Linked DNA regions of Homo sapiens: regions 2, 3 and 4 are each linked to region 1. The links are contacts of gene promoters, found by promoter capture Hi-C in blood cells and fetal thymus (Javierre and others, 2016). All regions are on one chromosome and are shown on one strand. The core of a region is centred on a gene start or on the middle of the fragment in contact, and the rest is flanking DNA. Distances in the headings are between cores, read along the strand shown. Region 1 holds the start of JARID2 (jumonji and AT-rich interaction domain containing 2). Region 2 overlaps LOC101928354 (a long non-coding RNA gene). Region 3 overlaps LOC101928354 (a long non-coding RNA gene). Region 4 has its middle 440 kb from the start of LINC01108.

Region 1 (2,947 bases), core at 185-2,684:
TATCACAAAATACGCCCGGCAAAGCAAAGATCCCGTTCAGTCTCTTTAAACACGGCTATCTTTTCTCAGGAGGCAGCCGCCGGGGCTTCACTCCTGGGCCACCAGCGACGTCCTCCAAGCGGGTCGAGCGGAGGCGCGTTCGCGACCCAGGGGCAGCGTGCCGAGCCCGGGCGTGGGGGGGCGTGGCCTTTCCACTCGGCGACCCCCGGCCACCGCCCACCCCGCGCGTGGGGGCGTGCGCGACTGCGGGGCGCGGAGAGGGGTGACCTCGGACTACCCTAGGCGCCCGCAGCACGCTCTGTACACAGACGCGAGGCGCTGTCCTGAGGTGACACCGGCTGCACGGCACAAGCAGCAGGCGCCGCCGATCAACTAGTTCGCACCGAGGATTCCTCTTGGTGCGTGGCCCAGTTTTCCTTAGGACGGGCTCCAACCCCTCCCTGACACCGCCCCCCTCACCGCCACGCTCCGAGGCCTTCCCCGGGGAAGCCTCGCGTCCCTCCCCCGCGGCTCCGGGCCGCACGCGCGCGATTCCTCGATTCCACAGGCGGTTCGCGCCGCGGGTGGGGGCGGGGCGCGCGGGGAGGGGGCTGGCGGCCGCCAGGGGAGGGGGGCCGGGGCCCGGGGGGCGGAGGAGGGCCGGCGTGGGGAGTTCCTCGCTCGCGGACCACACGCTCCGCGGGCCAATCCCGAGCCAGCCTCTAGCAGTGTCGCACGCGGGACACGTCCAAGCGTTTGTTGGCACGGCCAGTGAGGGGGAGGGGGCGAGGAGGAGGGAGGGGAGTTGAGTGACAGGCTTTGCGGGGCAGGCTGGGAATTGTAGTTCCCAGCTTCCGTGGCCATAGCCATTTTGTAGTCGGGGGACTACAACTTCCAGAAGATCAAGGGGACCATTCTAAGGTGCCCCGGGAATAGGCGGCTCTCCCCGGGGCCGGGCGTCCTGGGGCACTCCTACCCAGCAGCCCGGCTGCAGGTAGACGCGAAGGCAGTGGCGGGGGCTGGCGTGGGGCGGCCGTGGGGTGAGCGGCAGGCAGGGGAAAGGGGGTGAGGTGGAGCGACGGAGCGTGCCATGCATTGAGCTAGGGAGCCTCTCTCAATTCCACGCCTGGGCTCGGCGTGGGAGCGACGCCCGAGGGCTTGCCTGGGAGGGGTTCGTCGAGGTCGCTCGGGTGTCTGGTTGGCCAGGCTGCGGGGGTGCCCTGGACTGGGCCAGGGGCGGTCGGCACCAGGCTAAGCGGGCGCCTGGCGGCTGAGCGGTGGGAGTTTTCGGCTGGCGCCCGGCGGGGAATTATCCGAGGAGCCCTAACTTGTATAAAAGCAGAGTCCATTTAAAGTTGGGCTGGATAGCCTCTCTCTCATTGGTTAGGGGGCTTGGAAAAAAGAGACTCGGCGAGCCCTCGCTGTGGTGCTGCCGCCGCCGCCGCCGCCGCCGCTGGAGTTGACTCTTCTGCTCGCACTGCTGCTGCAGCACAAACGTGACTTCCAACATTTTTTATTTATCTTTCCCTTTTCTTTTCCAAGATGTAACTACGGATCAGACACTAAGGACCTTCACGTTTCGCTGATGTAGTTTTTGGAGGAAAAAGGGGGGGGAGTGAAGGGCGTCGGTTTTTTTTTGTGTGTGTGTGTATGTGTTTCGGGGGAAATTTTCCATTATGAGTGTTTTACTAAAGTGAATTTTTTTTTGTTTGCTTCGTTCGTCTTTGGCTCTTTTTTTTTCCTTCCCAATTTCGGATTTATTTCAAGGCGAATCTGGCTTTGGGGGAAGAGGAAGAAAAGTCGGATTACAAGATCAACCACCACCAACAACAATAAAAACCACCAGGATATTTTTTTGCAAATTTCTGACGGCTTTAAATTCATGAAGCAATTGTCCCCTTTTGCAATCAGCATTTGGATCTCAGAATGAGCAAGGAAAGACCCAAGAGGAATATCATTCAGAAGAAATACGTAAGTGCTCCTAACAACACATCCTTTGACTTGCAGTTTTAAGCAATGGCTGTGAATGTCAAGTTTATAGATAATTCTGCCTCTGAAGGGTTTTAAACACAGCGTCCGATAAGGCTGTTTCTTTTTTTTCTGAAAGAGGGCTTTTCAAGCAAAGTGGTGTCTGCCTAGTTTGGTTGAAAAAACAGACTGGTGTAGAGATACCTCAAGTGAATAAATTGACCTCGAATGACACAACCATAATCTACTTTTAGATGAAAGGCAAGGGATTTTGGTGGAGCTTGAGGTGGGGGGTGGCTGCGGTAATGTAACTAAACTGCATTCTCAAGCGGATTTGGCCCCGTATTGCACTTTGCATGCAAATGAGCCTGTGTTATTATTATTAATGTTATTTGGAAAAATCGTGTAACGCATGTGTGTTGGAAGCCCTTTAAGTTGCGATCGAGGGTCCGATTATGGCGATCTTCTCTTTGCACTGGCACATCAAATTTAATGTCTGTGGTCGTTTTGGCTTATCTGGTTTGCAACATAAACCAGTTGGGAATCATGTTACAGCGAATGCATTTGTTGGGATTGACTTTAATAATGAGGCTGGTTTTGTTTAAAAAATTCATGGTTTCCAGTTGTAGGGGAAAAGGACACACACTATGGCTAATGTTTTTAAGTGTGTACGTGAATGCATATGTAAGTAACTACAAATAATTTCTCCCTGTTAACTGGGCTTCTGAAATTGGGTGATTATTCCTAGATTTAAATGGCTTGGAATAGTTAAATTTGTTTTGTGCATAGTACAGCTACGTTTTGATTGGCATGGGGAGTGTTTTTGTTTTGTGTGTGGTGGCTTTTTTTTTTTTTTAAGTTTGAGGGGAGGGAGGAAAGGGGGACCGAGGGATTAACCAAATATGCACTCGAGTGATCTGTGATTAGCTGCATGCTTTAAATTAAATAACTCTTTTTTTTTTTCAAAAAAGGCCAAATGAACATACCTTAGGAATAATGC
Region 2 (2,700 bases), core at 149-2,648, 530 kb before region 1:
GGGTGGAAATGGAGGGTAAAGTTGAGATGTCATAAACTCAGTAGCTTCCAAATTTTATTACAGGCTTTTTCAGGTCTAACAATAGCAATTTGGAGAAGGGAGAGAAAAGACATTACTCAGTCTTCAAAAGTACACCCCAAACTCATGCGAACTGTGAGCTGACACTGCCATCTGCTCTCCCTGACATGTGGTGTGGGAAGCATGATTACCATTTTCCTCTAAGGCCAGCGTCCTCTTTAGGATTCTCCCTCTAGCACCGGGCCTAGGACAGTCTTAATCCTGACAGTCCAGAACTTCAATTTTACTATTCACTCAACAAATACTTTTCAAGCATTTATATGCGCCAGACACTGTTATAAAGTCTGGGATGTAGCAATCACTAAAGTAGGAAAAGTTCTGCCTTGTTGGGGTGTTTATTTGCTAGTTAGGGGGACACAGGAATTAACAAATAATCAAGTATGAATAAACAGACTATCAGATGGTGATAGGTGCTATGGAAAAAGCAAGGCAGATTAAGAAGGACAGAAATCATCCAGGCAGGGGTGGGGGGAGTGGGGGATGTGGATTATGTGGTGCGGTCAGGGAAGGTCTCACTGAAGAGGTAACATCTCAGGAAGACCCAAGCAGGGGAAAGAGAGGCCATGTAGAATTGCAGGGCAGGGTTTTTCAGGCAAAGGGATCAGAAAGGGCCAAGACTGTGAGGCAGGAGAGGGATTGGTGTGTTTACAGAACAGCAAGGGGCCAAAAGGAGCGAGGAATGACGGTGACAGTGGAAGGAGCTAAGACAGGAGAGGTGGCCGGAAGCCAGATCGCTTGCAACCTTGCAAACCATTTTAAGGACTTCACCTTTAACTCAGCACATCAGTCAGGGCCTAACCAGGAGACAGAAGCCACACCAGTTATTTTAACACGGCTAATTTAATATAAAGAATAATTTTCTAGGAATAAAGTCTTAACCAGGTAACTGAAAGAGTAAAAAGACAACTCTAAGGTGTCTTTCGTATAACAACTTCAGGAAGCTCCACCCCTGGGGCTGGCAGAAGAAAAAGGGGGCTGTCGGATAATTAAAATTTAGAAGCTTAGAAAACAGTCCCATGGGGCTAGAACCCAAACCTCAAAGATGGGGCAATGGCAGTCAGTGCTGTGGCCCTAAAAAGGCACAATGAGTCTGGTTCTTGAGTGTAGGAAAAATTGCAACGTAGATTGAACAGCTGCTACAGGAAGAAACTGCTGCTGCCAAGATGAAGCAGCAGTACTGGGGTGCTGCACACAGGAGCCACAGGCAGACAGGATACCCATGGGAAAGAGTAGGAGCCTCTCTAGCAACCCCTACTGGCTGAGTGCAACAAGGAGCCCAACAAAGGAGAAATGCAGTGTTCAGGGGCCCAGCATAGAATCAAGTATTGAAGGAAGGCTTTGGAGCTGAAAGATGATAACTTACTAACTGGAACTCTCTGAATGAGATAAGATTTTGAGCAAGGAAGTGACAAAAGCTGACTCACTCTGACATCTGTGTTGAAAACAGACAGTAGAGGAGCAGCAACAGTGGAGGAGGGAAGGAGTGGATGGATTCTGAATACAGGCATCCCACTGGATTTGCTGATGGTGTCCATGTGAGCTGTGAAAGAGAGGAGTCAAGGGTGACTCCTTCATCGAGGCCTGAGTAACTGAATGGAGACAAATTTACTGAGGGAGCAGGGAGAGCAAGGGGGCAAGAACAAGCTTGTTAGGTCAGCTTAGGTGTGAGGTGCCTGTTAGAAATTCAACTGAGGGGCTGGGCGCCTGTAATCCCAGCACTTTGGGAGGCTGAGGCGGGTGGGTCACCTGAAGTCAGGAGTTTGAGTCCAGCCTGGCCAACATGGTGAAACCCCACCTCTATTAAAAATACAAAAATTATCTGGGTGTGGCAGACACCTGTAGTCCCAGCTACTCAGGAGGCTGAGGTGGAAGAATTGCTTGAGCCCAGGAGGCAGAGGTTGCAGTGAGCCAAGATCGTGCCACTACACTCCAGCCTGGGTGACAGAGTGGGACTCCATCTCAAAAAAAAGAAAGAAAGAAATTGGACTGACAATGACAGCAGGCAGTTGCATCCCCAAGCCTGGGGAGGGTTTAAGTTAGAGATATAAATTTGAGGCTCACCCATCATATAGATGGATTTTAAAGCCACATGATTGAATGAGATCATGCGTGTCATCTCAACGTCACTTAGAATATGACATGGCTAAGAATCAGCTCTGGAATCAGAATGATGTCAATTTGAATTCAAACTCTATCGTCACTGGATTTTCTCAGATGTTCTAAGCCCTGATTCCCTCATGTGTAACCTAGAGATGATACTAATCATGCTGACTACACTGATCTTATGTACGGATTAGATTCAGTAACGTAAGGAAAGCCCTTACACCAGTGCCTGATATCAACTCTTATAAATAAGAGTTATTATCATTATCATAGTTTTATGATATTATTAGTAGTCAAAGATAGCCAGAGCCTAGAAAATTAGGCTTCTAAGACCCAAAAGCAAAGAGACCTGAATTGTACTAAAAAGACAACTTATTAATTGTAGGAGAAGATACAGTGGCATCTTATGTGAAATAGGTATATAAACCATGACTCTGAATTACTGTGGCTTTCCTTTTACAGATACATTTATTCGGAGTACTAAAAATTTTTTTTTTTTTTTTTTTTTTTTTTTTTTTT
Region 3 (2,844 bases), core at 187-2,686, 570 kb before region 1:
GGTAAAGAAGAGGGAACTGCAGGCACCCTGGCCCAGAGGCCTGACACCTGATGCAGCCAGGAGAATAAAGGTAAAGAGCCCCACAGGAGAGAAAGGATTCTGAGTCTCTGAAAAACTGCAAAGAGAAGAGCCTCCCAGCCCAACCCACACTCACACACACACATACACAAGCTGCACTGGGCTGTGATATGAATAAAAGATAATCACATTGTGTTAACCCACTGAGATTTGGGGGTTGTTTGTTACAGTGGCTAACGTTACTTACTCTAGCTAACATACTCTTAGGTTTTATTAACAGATGGGATGAGATAATGCATGCAAAGTGCCCAGTTCTATGTCTGATATACAGTAGGTCCCTAGCATAGCACTCTACCTGAAACATGGTAGGTGCTCAGTAATTAAGGGTTATAAAAAGTCAACCAGTTGCTTTTCTTAGAGGCCCTAGAGACAGCATCGTAGCCAACATGAGCCTTTTGTAGCTGATGAGAAAGACAAAGCTCTCAGTATGGAAAACCAGTGAAAACACAGGGACAGATCTACAGGGAAAGTGGTTAGAGAAAAGGCACACGGGGAAAATTTTTTATAGGAATAGTCATCTGCTATGAAGTGAATGTTTGTGTCCCCCTGAAATTCATATGCTGAAATCTAAATCTCTAATGCCCTGATTTGAGGAGATGGAGGCTTTGGGAGGTAATTAGGTCATGGGGATGAAGCCCTTGTGAATGGGGTTAGTGTTATTTATAAGAAGAAACAGGAGAGCGTGATCTCACTCTCTGCTCTCCTCCACATGAGGACACAGCAAGAAGACACCCTCTCCAAACCAGGAAGTGAGCCATCACCAGACACCAGACCCACCAGCACCTTGATCTTGGACTTCCCAGCCTCCAGTGGGCAATAAATGTTTGTTGTTTAAGGCACCCAGTCTGTGATAATTTATTGTAGCAGCCACATCTAAGACATCACCATATACATTTTCATCTGACTTCTCCTTCTGGACCCTGGTAAATACTCCATCAAATCAGTCAGCTCTCTCGAGTCCCCTTTTCCTTGCCTTAGCCCTACCAAGGCCCTGAGTCTTTCTCTCTCTTGCATGGTCTAAGTGTTCCTCAGTTTTGGCTGCTTCTTCCCCTAGAACAAGACCCCCTTCCCAGCCTTTGCCTGGCCCCTGCTGAACGTAGCCACCCTGGCTTATTTATAAAGTAGCTACTATGTGCAAGGTCTGGCACTAAATAGGTACCAAGCAAGGACGGTGAGAGTGGTCAGCCTTGGGTGCAAAGCAACAAGAGGGCACATTGTAGAAAATGTAAACACCAGGATGACACTAAGTGTCAGTATGCTTTTTATGATCACTGTATGAAGGCAATCCTAAATGATGTCAGCAACGCAGACTACTTCCTGCTGGGATGACTCCCCCTCATAACCCACACAGCCTTTGGAATGTCATTGGAGAAAAAGTCTAAAGCTACCTAGTCCCTGCCCTCAAGTTGCCTGTAGCTCAGCAGCAGAGAATGACAGCTAAATGAATCAAGAATGTGAGGAGCAACAAATGTCAGGGAAGGCTTTGCCAAAGAAATGGTAGTGGAGCTTAACTGTGCTCCGCTAGCAGGACCAGAGCTAGGATTCTGCCAGGTAAAGAAGAGGGAACTGCAGGTACCCTGGCCCAGAGGCCTGACACCTGATGCAGATAGGAGACTAAAGGTATAATAGTTCCCTGTGGCTGGAGGTAAAGAGGCACTGGGCAAAAAGACCCCTGCAGATGATCAGAGCAGAGAGGCTGGTAGAAATCAATTCCAGAAGGGCCTATATCCTGTTGGTAATGACGAACCAGCAAGGCATTTTTCTTTCTTTTTTAAAACTTTATTGAGATAGAATTCAGTTCAATGGCCTTTTTTCTTCATTTCTCACCAAAATCAATTTTAGAATCTTTTCACTGCCCCAAAAGAAACCCTGTACCCCTTTGCTGTCACTTTCCAATCCTACTCTTGGGCACAAACATAGGAGCAGCAAAAGGTTTTTTAACAGAAGAATCATAAAAGTCTATTTTCATTTTTAAAAGAGCCCTCCTTGACCTGCCACTGCCCAAGGCCTGGCAGGGCACATGCAGACACAATGCTGTGGTCTGACTGTGTCCTCCAGATTTCATATGTTGGAAACTTAGCCCCCAATGTGGCAGTATTGAAAGGTGGGGCCTTTAGGGGGTGATTGGATTATGAAGAATTGTGCCCTCAGGAATGGATTAATCCATTTGTAGATTAATGGGTTAATGGATTAATGGGTTATCATGGGAAGGAAACTGCTGACTCTATTACAAGAGGAAGAGAGACCTGAGCGAGCCCATTAGCACACTCAGCCTCTGCCACATGATGCCCTGCAGAGCATCCCTTGCCTGTCCACGCTCTGCAGAGGCCTCACAAACAAGAAGGCCCTCACCAGCTGCAGCTTCTCAACCTGGGACTTCTCAGCCTCCATCACTGTAAGAAATAAATTCCTTTTCTTTATAAATTACCCCGTTTCAGGTATTCTAAGTAACAGAAAATTCATTCGTACCCATACTCACTACTTCTTGCATCATCCTCAGGATGTAAGGACCTACCTGGGGCTCCAGGACTCTCTTTCCTCACCAGCTGCAGCCTCTCAAGTGCTTGCACCTGCACACCCAGCCCACCCGCACCCAGACCCTGGTTTCCTGCCTTGGCAAGAAGCACGTAAGGAGAACATAGCTGGAAAGGTTTTTGCCTCAGGCAGGGTTGACACATTTGGGTTCTGCTTCCTGGTGACTGAACTTAGCACAGCATCCTCTGAGATTCCCTACCTCTTGGCTTGCTCATTACTTCAGAGAGTTAA
Region 4 (2,700 bases), core at 24-2,523, 520 kb before region 1:
TCAAAATCTACATTTCCATAGCCACATAATTAAGAACTAAATCTCACTCCCAATCACGTTGTAGAATTGTTTTAGATATAACAAGGTGTCCACCTAGGTAGAACTTTAAGAAGTTTCCAGTGGCGGTAATGTTCTGTTTCTTAATCTAGGTGATGGTTACGTGAGCATATTCACTTAGTAATAATTCATAGAGCTGTACACTTAGGATTTGTACACTTTTTAGTTAGACTTCATTTTCAGACCTGTTTTGCTATTTCTTGCATTATTCATGGCGTCTCACAAGATGACAAATTCTCAAAGTCCTCACAGAGCCTAGCAGGGTGCTAGGCTTCTAGCAGGAGCATGAGTTATGTCTATTGACACCATTAAAATTTGGAGATCTGGGGAGTATCAGAGAGAGAAAGACAGTGCACAGGGCACTGGGATAGTTTTGCAATGTCCTTCTACATCAGGGAACCAAAAGCATTCTGACCCCAAAGCTGCAGGTCAATAACGCAACCAACTTCATCAGCACAGGCCAGTAGAAAGAGGAAACTCAGCTGTGCTGCTGATAACCCATGTCTTAGGAAAATAACCCTTCTGATTTTAAAAAGATAGTTACGTGCATACACACACCCCAAAAGCTCGACTCTAGCCTCAACATGAGAGGAATTAATGTGATGGGATAAAAGTTAGTGCCTATTTTAAGAGGCAGTGACAACTAAAATAGATTGCAGATGGCAAGCTCTTCTGAACCCTGTAATAAGTCTATGATGGCCCATTCTCCAGGAAGCCAAAGTTGGAGCCAGAACTCCATGGTGTTGGAAATGCTGACAGCAATCATTTACTCCAAGAAACACAAGGGCTGGCCCTGAAGCGGAAGTGCTGGAGAAAAGCACCCCCGAAGGGTTGTGATGGACCCCCTCAAAAAAGGCCACAGTGGGAGGGATCAGTTTGATCTCCAATTGGAGTAGTCCTTTGAACTCTGACGCTAAGCTTTAGTGCAATGTGGTGCATTGGGGGTTGTTTCCATTTCAGCTGTTTCTCCATATGCCAGAGAGGAGAGTCGTGCCTGGCAGGCCTGGGCCAGCAATATCTAGAACACAGGCCTGGCTCCAGGAGAAGCCAGAAGCCTCCCCTCCTCCATCATGGTCCCTCTGTATGTGGGCAGAGAAGGAGGAGGGGGATCAAGGATCCAGGAGGAGGATTTGGTGCCAGGGAGATGACTAAGGTCTGACGCAATCACCACACGCATGTGGGACTCGTGAGATAAACAGATCTGGAGGGGGAACCAGTGCTCCAGGCTTGACCTTGGGGTGCCTCCCAGCCCCCATCTCGGTCCCTAGGCCCATTTAAGATGGAAGGTGAACCAAGATGCCCTGAGTTCTCATTTTTCTCTCTCTTGCTGGTTTTCTCTTGTTTGACAAATCGAACCGAACCCCAAAGGAAAAAAATGGGAAGGAGGGAGGAGGACTCCTTCCCATGCAGATTTATGGCATTCTGGATGCAGCTTGCATTTGTCAGGCCAAAATGGTTAGGGTGGGCTAATAGAGTAGAATTACAGCTTCCTATAATAGGGAAAGTTAAATAGACAAGCTTTCCTACCCTGAAGAGAACGAGGCAGAGGTCAGTGCTACTGGCTTTGAACATGAATGGCCCCTTCCCCTCGGTTCCCTTTCACATGTGGCCTGGCAACAGTAGCAGACAGATGCGACACAAAGCCAGACACACCTGATTAACCATGAATACAACAGCTGTCGTTTCCCCACCACCACAGATACCCACACCCTCGTTCTTTCCGCTTAGTTTTTTCCCTTTCTTTCAGCTAAGCGTGAGGAAATCAAACCTACCATTAAAACTCAAGTTAGTGGGAGGGTGTCAGCAGCCGGGCCTTTGTTTCTCTGCTCACAGACATGTAATAGGTACCTTCAGGGTTGTCCTTTCATCTGAAAATGCGTTGTGGTCTCCCGCTGAGGGCTCAGTCAGCTCAAAACCTGAGCCCCCAGAAAGGCCAGCAGAGGGTGGGGGAAGATGAAGGTGGCCTGAATGGGGACGGAGAAAGTGGACTTTTCTGGGGCACCTGAGTTTGTCTCTCTTCTCCTCTCTCCTCCTTTCCATCCGCTTGCCTCCATCCAACTACCACTCCCTGCTGCTAAAAACATCCACCCTTAAGATGGACTGGCTGTTCTGAATTTATCAAGAGGAAGTGGAACTCAACGTAGCATTGTCTTTCTGCAGCTTGCTTATTTCACTCTATTCTGAGCTGGTCTTAACAAAGAAGAATCAGGTCAGGTGGCTTTAGGGGTTTTTCTATTTGCCTCTCTTAGGTAGACAAATCCTTGAGTTCAAGTTAACTTCCAAGACCTTGCAAATCAAACACAGGAGGGAATCTAAGTGTTGAACTGCAAATGATTTCTAACGACATGAACAAAATGTAATGTGACTATATGAGCTTCCGGAAACCTACAGAATGGTAATTACAGCCCAGAGTATGAATCTTGATTTTTCTTCAGGTGTTCTTTTTCGTATTGTTTTGTTTTGCTGGGCAATCTCAAATTAACCATTTGACCTCTGTAAGCCTACATTTCTACTGCTTAAAATGGTTCTCTCTTTTGTCAAAAAGTCCCTGAAGCTATTACAAAGAGACTAATAAAAACGATCAGAAATCTCTTTGCAAACACTAAAACTTATAATAATAGGATGGATAACTGGGTAACTTAA

What was found. The method cuts DNA at HindIII sites, captures the fragments that hold promoters and counts their contacts. A CHiCAGO score of 5 or more calls a contact.
Region 2: a contact is called between a fragment that was not itself captured here and the fragment with the promoter of JARID2 in region 1, in 7 of 17 cell types (megakaryocytes, M2 macrophages, erythroblasts and 4 more). The highest score is 9.6, in megakaryocytes.
Region 3: a contact is called between a fragment that was not itself captured here and the fragment with the promoter of JARID2 in region 1, in 1 of 17 cell types (fetal thymus). The highest score is 6.8, in fetal thymus.
Region 4: a fragment that was not itself captured here is called in contact with the fragment with the promoter of JARID2 in region 1 in 6 of 17 cell types (activated CD4 T cells, megakaryocytes, fetal thymus and 3 more); the score reaches 8.9 in activated CD4 T cells.

The regions. Positions count from the first base shown.
Region 1 is chr6:15,244,635-15,247,581 of GRCh38, forward strand. JARID2 (jumonji and AT-rich interaction domain containing 2) reads left to right here and starts at 1,435. Exons shown (of 18, transcript NM_004973.4): 1 at 1,435-1,950. The coding sequence starts at 1,906. It overlaps JARID2-DT (JARID2 divergent transcript), which reads right to left and starts at 740. Exons shown (of 1, transcript NR_187237.1): 1 at 1-740. RefSeq lists enhancers at 1-63, 1,253-1,302, 1,413-1,512 and silencers at 63-372, 383-642. The HindIII fragment of the contact is 5,356 bases long and covers 1-2,947 here.
Region 2 is chr6:14,709,917-14,712,616 of GRCh38, forward strand. All of the region lies in intron 1 of LOC101928354 (a long non-coding RNA gene), which reads right to left. Among named protein-coding and RNA genes, the nearest start is that of LINC01108, 430 kb to the left of the region's middle. The HindIII fragment of the contact is 644 bases long and covers 1,077-1,720 here.
Region 3 is chr6:14,671,934-14,674,777 of GRCh38, forward strand. The region is part of intron 1 of LOC101928354 (a long non-coding RNA gene); the gene reads right to left. Among named protein-coding and RNA genes, the nearest start is that of LINC01108, 390 kb to the left of the region's middle. The HindIII fragment of the contact is 5,373 bases long and covers 1-2,844 here.
Region 4 is chr6:14,727,557-14,730,256 of GRCh38, forward strand. No RefSeq gene overlaps it. Among named protein-coding and RNA genes, the nearest start is that of LINC01108, 440 kb to the left of the region's middle. The HindIII fragment of the contact is 600 bases long and covers 974-1,573 here.